Linked DNA regions of Homo sapiens: all the other regions are linked to region 1. Evidence: promoter capture Hi-C in 16 types of primary human blood cells and fetal thymus (Javierre and others, 2016). All regions are on one chromosome and are shown on one strand. The core of a region is centred on a gene start or on the middle of the fragment in contact, and the rest is flanking DNA. Distances in the headings are between cores, read along the strand shown.

Region 1 (2,955 bases), core at 180-2,679:
TGACCCCCCTACCTTGCTCCTTGGCTATAAATTCTCACTTTTCCATGCTACAATTGAAGTTGAGCCCAATCTCTCTTCCCCACTGCAAGACCCTGTTGCAGTGGTACCTATGTCTATCTCAATGGTCCTGAATAAAGTCTTCCTTACCATGCTTTAACAAGTGACAAGTGTCATTAAATAATTTTTTTTTTTTGAGACCAAGTCTTGCTCTGTCGCTAGGCTGGAGTGCAATGGCTCGATCTCAGCTCACTGCAACCTCCGCCTCCCGGGTTCAAGCGATTCTCCTGCCTCAGCCTCCCAAGTAGCTGGGATTACAAGCACGTGCCACCACGCCTGGCTAATTTTTTGTATTTTTAGTAGAGACGGGGTTTCACCGTGTTAGCCAGGATGGTCTCGATCTCCTGACCTCATGATCCGCCTGCCTCGACCTCCCAAAGTGCTGGGATTACAGGCATGAGCCACCACGCCCAGCCAAATAATTTTTTCTTTAAAAAGGTATTATATAATCCTTAAACATTTTAGCCCTATAATAGACAGCAAGAAAAAAGTAACCCCTGACAGCTCTGAGCTGCCCCGGCAGTCACAGCTGGGCCTTGGTGCTGCGTGGAACATAAATACTTCACAGAACACCATCAGACGTGGCCACTCTTTGACCAGATGGATCAAGACAAAAACAAGACTCCTTCGTAATCACGTGGGAATGCTGAAAAAACGTAAACATTGTCCAAACCACAAAAATGACCAAACATCCCCTATCCCAGTTAATGAGTCACTGGTCTTGTCTCCCCTCCTTTTAGGTAAGATTTATTATGATACTTAATCATACAATCGCCCTCCTTCCTGCCAGCACCCAGTCCAGAGTATTGGATTGGATACTCTGTTTCCCTGAACCTTTCCCCAAATTACCTTGGGGTAAGGCATCAGCAAAGGAGGCTGTCACATTCGTTCAACCATCACTGTGCTTTTACTGGCCCTTTGCAGGCAAAGAATGAGAATATGCACAGATGAGAAGTCCAGGATGCACAAGACCACTCAATTAACATTTACTACTTTCATATCAACTGATGCATGCTAGGATGCTAAAAACACTTTTTGAATTAATTACTGCGTTAAATAGATTCACATTTATGTCTACAGTTATGTGAACATCTAGCTGAGCACTGTCTTGACTGTCCTGAGTAGAAGCAGAAAAGATAAGTTGTAAAGTACATCAACAAACTTTGCTGCTAAAAAACGAAAGTGCAGTTTCTTTCTCTCGGGCCCGGGGCGGGGCCATGGCTCCTCCTCTAGGAAGCCGCGCGAGCGCAGTCCCACGGCAGCCATTTCCCTAGCGCGCATGCACTGGGTCCCAGGACCACGTGCGCCGGCCTGTGGGCTTGGATTGGCTGAGCCTTGACGTTGTCCCAGTCCCGGTGATCGGAAGTTCTCCGTGGGCACTGGGCGGCTGAAGGCTCCGGAACTGCGCCTGCGCTTTTCGGTGAGTCATGCTTCAGGTTTGCCAGGGCCTGTGTCCCGCAAAAAGGCGAGCCCTTATTCCCAGCGGAAGCCCACCCCGGCTCGCGGCAGCTTTCCGGTGCGCCCTGGGCGGCGTAGATCCGAAGGTGCTCGCACCCCCGCCCCTTCCTCTCCGACTGTCGAGGTCGCCAGAGTGGGCTGAACCCTCGGGACTGTCGCTGTTTGTGTGCTGGGTGCCGGGCCGTCATCCCAAGATGATTAGCGGCAGGCTTTGCATGTTGCTCGACCCCACCCACCGGAACTCGAACCCGGGCTAGACCGGGCAGTTGGGCTGGTCCCTTCCTCTCGCTGCACCTTTACTAGGGGTCACCATTAAGGGAAATGGTCCTAGTGCAGTGCTGAGTGGCTGTTCAGTAACCGCTACACCGCTGCCAACATTTGGCATCGTTTCTCTCCATAGAGGGCGGGGCTCCCTGTGAAGCTGGGGAGCTGTTAAGTGGGTTAGGGCTAGAAAGTTACAGTTTCTCTTTAGGCTTTAAAGAGATCTAAAGATCTGAACAGATCTAGGTTATTTTTGACTTGTTACAAACTTCTGGAAACATTGTTTCCAGACCTTTCCTCTCGTTCTTCTCAGGGTTTAGGCCATTTTTGTGCAGATGTGTGCACCTTGCTTACTATAATATTAGCTAATCTTTATAAGTTTTTATATGGATCCAATACCATATTTCGTGCCTACTTTTCCTGGCACTGTATACACTTTTTGGTATAGGTATGCACCTAAGCAAGCATTATCCATATTAGCATCAGTTCTAGAACCGTGGCGTCCCAATAATGATAGCCATTAGTTACATAAGGCTTGATCACTTGAAATGTGGCTAGTCCGAATTGAGATGTGCTGTAAGTGTAAGACACAGTGAATTTTCGAGAATTAGCATGAAAAAGAATGTAAAATATCTCAATTTGTTTATATTAATCACATGTTGAAATGACTATTCTGGATACACTGGGTTAAATAAAATGTATAATTAATTTCACCAATTTTTATTTTTTAACATGACTACTGGAAAATTTTAAATCATATTTGTGGTTTACATGTTATATATATGTTGCACAGCCCTGCTCTAGAAAAGGGTCAACAAACTATGGCCTGCAGCCAAATCCAGCCTGCCTGTTTTTGTAAACAAGTGTTACCAGAGCAAGATCATGCCTATCCATTTATGTTATTTTCTGTATCTGCTGTTGCTGCTACAATAGCAGCAGAGTTGAGTAGTCCATAGAGATTGTATGGCCTACAAAGCCTAGAATATATACCTTCTGATCTTTAACAGAAAAAGTGTGCTGACCCCCTGCTGTAGAACAATGCCTGGTTTGGTAGATATTTTTAAGCCTTTTAATTGTAGATTCACATCCTATTATTCACACTTACTGTGTGACAGCCATAGTTCAAAGCACTTTATCAAGACTTTCATTTAATTCTCATTAATCCTAGGATGTTGGATT
Region 2 (2,955 bases), core at 332-2,831, 390 kb after region 1:
TCAGGCTTCCAAAAGGTGGGCAAATGTGGGAAGGTAAACTTATGGGAAGAGTCAAGTTTGTTCCTAGGTCCTCTGGCACTGTTATCTCTCAGCTGATGAGCAAGTGTAGGCAGGAAAAGTCAGGGAGGAGGACAGGAAGACCTTTGTCTTTGTAAATTGCTCTCCTGTCATCAGGCAGGCAGAGGGAGGGGCAGAGTGTCCTCTGGTGTTTTAACCTTCTTCAGGTCAATAGTCCTCAGTGTTTTAGACAGAAATATTTTGGGTTCCTTCATGGCTGAAACCCCAATAACAAATGACAGATTAAAAAGAGAAAAGCATAGCAAGTTTACTCAATATAAATTTTACATAACACAGGAAGCTTCAGAAATGAAAACCCAGAGACTAAGGGAAAACCATATTTTTGTGGACAGTCATGCAGAAGTGTGATTGGAGGACAAAATAATATGACATAGTGGTAGTAAATTTGGGGGAACTTAGCAAGGCCTGTTTGTTCAGATTCTTTTTGGCCTCTCTGTGTAACATTTCTTTCCTCTAGGTATAGGGCAGGACACCTGTCATATGAGGGTCTTCAGGGGAGAAAGGAAGGAGAGGGTCAGAGACTGACCTTCCTAGATTCTATGGCCTGTTTCAGGGGAGAATGGTGGGAGAAGATGAGAGAGACCTTCCTGCTTCTGCCATTTTCTCAATTGCCAAGCTACTGTATTTTGGGGTATTGTGTTCTGAGCCTGTCAGCTTAGATTAATGTTTGAGAAGTGACCATTTTGTAATAATCAATGCTAATCACTGGACAAATTATTGTACAGTGTAATTAGAAATGATCATCAACACTGGATAAATTATCTGAATGTTCATACTGTTTTATTGCTTGCCATGTGCAGGCATAGACTGTCTATGGAAGGAAAGGGAGTATATTTGGAGTGAATAACAGTGTTGTCTACATTAGGCTAGATTTGCTGGTCATTGTTATAGAAAGCCATTTAAGCAAATGTTATCACTTCCGTAGTTTGACGGCTACAGTAATGAAAACCTAAGGTGTCTTATTGTTATCTGAACATATTACATATTAGAAATGAATGTATCTATTGAATTCTGAATTATTCATGGTAGTAGTGACAAGGTTAATGTTTAGAAAAATTACTTAATCACACATATTGGAATAAGCCAAAATAAAGTGTTTAGAGTCTTGAAACCATTCCAAAATCACATTTTACCCAATAACTGAAAAAATATTCTTCCATCACACTTTGAAAGCACTGTGAATAATCATGAAATAACAGTACCCTTTCAAATTTTGGCTAATTTTTTGTTGGAAATGATGATGGGGGACAAGATGGTCCAAAGGTTAGGAACTAGAGAATACTTTCTCTTCTGGCTATATGATCCTATAAACATCTACAAATTTGGTGATCAGTAGCTCAGTGAATGTTAAGGGTAATGTACGCTCTCAATTTATTAGGTATCCATTGGTTTTCTATTAAACTAAATGTATGTAATCAATTTAATATGCATGATTGATAAGACCCATAGAAATAAAATACTAGTTGAATCCTTTACAGCAGTGGTTCTTAGCTTTGAATTCATATTGGAAACACTTGAACAGCTTTTAAAAATCCCAAACCCAGGTCACATTCCAGACCAATTAAACTAGAATCTCTTGGGGATGAGGCCCAGATATCCGTACTTTTAAAGCTCACTAGATAGTTCTAATATGTAGCCAACTTTGAGAAATACTACTTTATAGAACATCTCTGCTTACTCTTAGTTAAGTTTAAGTATTTCAGGGACTCTTTCTTTAACAATCATTAACAGTCTTTTTCTTAAACAGTCTTTAGGGACTGTTTCTGTTTCTTTTTCTTTAAATGGAAGCAAATCATTCCAAAATAATAGTTTATTTGTTTTATTTTATTCCTATCTGTTTTTTTTTGCTCTTGTTTCATTTTGTTTTATTTTTGCCAAGTTGATCAATATAGCATAATGGCATATGGAGTCAGGTCATTCTCAGTTTGAATGCAGATTGGGCTATTTACCAGTTGTCATAGATTGGCAATGTATTTAATCTCTAAGCAAGTTTCCCCCTGCCCCATCTATAGCAGTATTTCTCAACTGGAGGCAATTTTTTCCCACCAGGAGACATTTGTCAATGTTGGAGATGTTTTTGATTGTTACTGCTGGGGAGTTGTTTTTGACATCTACTGGGTAGAGGCCAGGGATGCTGCTCAACATCCTACAATGCACAGGACAGAGCCATAGCAAAGAATTATCTGGCTCCAAAAGTCACTAGTGCTGAGGTAAAGGAACCCTGATCTACAGAGTGAGGCTCTAGAGTCTGACTGCATTCAAAGTCTTATTTCTCTACTTCCTAACTGTGTAATCTTGAGCAATTTACTGAATGTATTCTTGCCTGAATCCCATGTGAAAATGCAGATATTATTAGCACCCACTTTGGAGTTGATGGGAGGTTTAAATGGGATAATGCATTTGGAGCATTAATACAGTGCAAATTATTACCACAATATGTGTCTTTCTGTTCTGGGGCATTTATGGCCTTTTGTCAGTATCCCTGAGATAATTTGTTTGATATATCTCTTGATAATCTGAGTTCATATTCCGTGGTTCAGTGGGAGAAGAGAAAAAGGGGTTGGAGGCTGGAGTTGTCTTTGAACATGTACATGCTTTCAATTTTAAGTGGGAATTCAGAGGAGATAGTTACACAGCACACTGTTAAATTCCTTCTCCCACTTTTCACTTTCCTCCCCCAGCTCACCACTAGCTTGACAATTGTATTGGGTTGGAGTATTCAAATAAAAAGCTTGTATTCAGCCAAATAAAAGTCAAAGAGATTCTTTTAAGTACAGGTTCTAAGGGAAAGTGCTTAACAGCAATGAGCACAGTTTATTTATTTATTATTTTATTATTATTTTTGAAAGCTCTAGGGTACACGTGCATGATGTGCAG
Region 3 (2,955 bases), core at 166-2,665, 360 kb after region 1:
CCTGTGTTCTTCAAAGCATTCATGTTCAAAGCTGAAAATGTCCTTATTGAATAAGTAGCTTCTAGTGGTTTTGAGAGCAAAATGAAACAAAAAACTTGAACCAATTATTCATACTACCCAGGTCCCTTATCTCTTTATTAAAGCTTTTTCCAACAGTGTATGTAACTAACCCTCCATGAAAATTTCTGGTGAAGGTAATGAATTGGAAAGCGCCATGGGCACTCAGATTACTTACATATGAATTCCATCATTCATTACCGCTTGAAGAACAGTTGTTCATCCTGTACTCACCAAAAGTGCTGCTGAAAAAAATAATGCTAGTGATCTATTGCCCATTATTTTCTTACTGGTGCAAGATCGGGCCCTGGCAGCTGCTTCTAATATAGACGAAGTCTTTAGATTCCAGTCTGACACCACAGTCTGTTCTCACCCTCACCAGACAATTCTCACATCTCCCTGGGACCAGCTAATGCATTCAGGGAAGGCTGTAGGAGCATGACACAGACGCTAAGAAAAGTAGTTTTGAATCATGCTGTAACTACACATTTTAAAAATACAAAGAATTGAAAGCTTGTTTAGGGACATTATTAGTAATATTGAAGTGGGTTAATTTTCCCAGTCCATGTACTTTACTGCATTAAATTTTATCAAGCAAGAATATCCTTGAAACAGAACTAAAAACTGTGTTAATTGCTAAATTTGATAGACACCAAAACTTTCATTCTTTCATGTCTTTAATATTCTAAATCAGTTTAAAAGTTTGAAAGGTGCCACCCAGAGCAGAAATATGACCTTTCTGAAGTCACAGAACATCTTATTAAAAATATGCAGAATCTTAGCTGGGCGCGGTAGCTCATGCCTATAATCCAGCACTTTGGGAGGCCGAGGCAGGTGGATCACCTGAGGTCAGGAGTTCAAGACCACTCTGGACAACATGGTGAAACACCATCTCTACTACTAATAAAAAAATTAGCTGGGTGTGGTGGTTGGCGCCTGAAATCCCAGCTACTTGGGAGGCCGAGGCAGGAGAATCACTTGAACCCGGGAGGCATAGGTTGTAGTGAGCTGAGATGGCGCCACTGTACTCTAGCCTGGGTGACAGAGTAAGAATCTGTCTCAAAAAAAAAAAAAAAAAAAAAAATATATATATATATATATATATATATGTACAGAATCTCAATCAAGCACTAATCAAGGCAAACGGTATCAGAGAAAAACCAATTTATGGTTAATAATCCATGTTAAAGGATGGGTTACTAGCAACTAACTGTAACAATAACATTTATTGGGCACCAACTTGGTACCAAGCACCATTCTATAACTTTTCTCATATTATCTCATGGATTCTTCACAATTACTACCCATTAGGGATTCTTCATAATTACTACCCACTAATTAGGATCCTATTTCATAGGTGAGGCAACTGAGGCAAAGAATGGTGAAGGCAGGGGGCTTACAGGAGGACGAGAACCTCTAATCAGCGAGTGGTAGAGTGAGGCTGGACCTCTGTGATTCAAGCAGTTCTGCCACAGCTGCCTCCATACACTGTTGCCAGCAATAATATGAATACTGGAAAATGAGGTTCAAGATGGAAGTTGCAAGGGTTTTCATAAAATTCCCTTTTATGATGGTTTGCTATCTAGATCACAGTAAAACAAATAAGTAATACAGTTTTTTCAGACAGATGACAAGAACTGTGGGTTTACTTTATGTCCCAGTCACAGATTGCATTTGGGGACAAAGAAAATTCTCCCAGGGTGATTGTACTCCTTTCCTAGGGCTGCCATAACAAAGTACCATATACTGGGTGGTTTAAAACAACAGAAATGTATTGTCTCATGGCTCTGGAGGTCAGAAGTCTGCAATCGAGGTGTTGGCAGGGCCATAAACCCTCTAAAGGTGCTAGGGAAGGATCTGTTCCAGGCCTCTCCCACCTTCTGGATGTTCCTTGGATTGTGGCGACATAATGTCAATCTTCACATGGTGTTTTCACTGCATGTGTGTCTGTCTCTGTGTCCGGATTTTGCCCTTTTTATAAGGACCTGAGTCACATAGGATTAGGATCCCTGTAATGACCTCACTTAACCTCAATTACCTCTGGAAAGACCCTGTCTTTAAATAAGGTCACATTCTGAGGAACTGGGGGTTAGGATTCCACTGTATCTTTCTTGGGGAGATACAATTCAACCCAGATGATGAAAGTGCAATTTGGAGCCGTAAAGTAACTAGACAGATTTGGAAATAATATGAAACACAGAGATGAAGCTTATCAAGTTTATAATGCACACAAGGCCTAGCTCATTCTGTAAAATGTCCCACAGAATCACTGCAAGTGTAGCACTCTATGGGTAAGATTTGCCAACCTCTGATTTAAGGCTTCTAATTCACACTGAAAGACTTCATTTATTCACTCAAAATAATATTAAGTGGCAAGTATGACTTAGCAGGTAATTTTCATGATTTTGTTTACCTACCTAGAGTTCTACCTAACAATGGCAAGAGGGAGGAATAGGGATGGTTGTTAACAATATCTGTAACTGAACCGTTCACATTTTTTCTTTGGTGCAAGGACACATTTCATTGTTTTATCTTTATTTTATTCATATCCACTTTTTATTGACTAACTCAAGTTTATTTTAAACCAGCAGATAATTCAAAGTCACCTTTGAGATGACTGGGATTTGCTTCCATCCATAATTACAATTTCCATCATAAAAGTATCAACCTCTAGTGGGCAAAACATGTTATTCTACTTTCTGGTAAGGACAAGAGTAATAAACTCGATCTCCATCCCATTTTCTCTGTCAAAAGCTGTAACAAACAGCATTCCAACCCAAACATGGACATGCTCCAATGCTTCTCATTTGTTGTATATATTAGACTAATGGTTGTTTCGTATCTATATTTTTAAAAAGGGTAAAATTTATTTCTGGAGATCAAGCAAAAGTATTCTGT

Evidence for each region. The method cuts DNA at HindIII sites, captures the fragments that hold promoters and counts their contacts. A CHiCAGO score of 5 or more calls a contact.
Region 2: a fragment that was not itself captured here is called in contact with the fragment with the promoter of TCEANC in region 1 in 1 of 17 cell types (non-activated CD4 T cells); the score reaches 5.1 in non-activated CD4 T cells.
Region 3: a fragment that was not itself captured here is called in contact with the fragment with the promoter of TCEANC in region 1 in 4 of 17 cell types (naive CD8 T cells, total B cells, non-activated CD4 T cells and 1 more); the score reaches 6.9 in naive CD8 T cells.

What each region holds. Positions count from the first base shown.
Region 1 is chrX:13,651,712-13,654,666 of GRCh38, forward strand. It overlaps TCEANC (transcription elongation factor A N-terminal and central domain containing), which reads left to right and starts at 1,430. Exons shown (of 5, transcript NM_001297563.2): 1 at 1,430-1,477. It overlaps LOC107985657 (a long non-coding RNA gene), which reads right to left and starts at 1,728. Exons shown (of 1, transcript NR_171573.1): 1 at 786-1,728. RefSeq lists enhancers at 1,113-1,302, 1,563-1,652 and a silencer at 1,231-1,542. The HindIII fragment of the contact is 12,822 bases long and covers 1-2,955 here.
Region 2 is chrX:14,043,267-14,046,221 of GRCh38, forward strand. No RefSeq gene overlaps it. Among named protein-coding and RNA genes, the nearest start is that of GEMIN8, 15 kb to the left of the region's middle. The HindIII fragment of the contact is 2,451 bases long and covers 357-2,807 here.
Region 3 is chrX:14,015,727-14,018,681 of GRCh38, forward strand. All of the region lies in intron 4 of GEMIN8 (gem nuclear organelle associated protein 8), which reads right to left. Among named protein-coding and RNA genes, the nearest start is that of GEMIN8, 13 kb to the right of the region's middle. The HindIII fragment of the contact is 1,695 bases long and covers 569-2,263 here.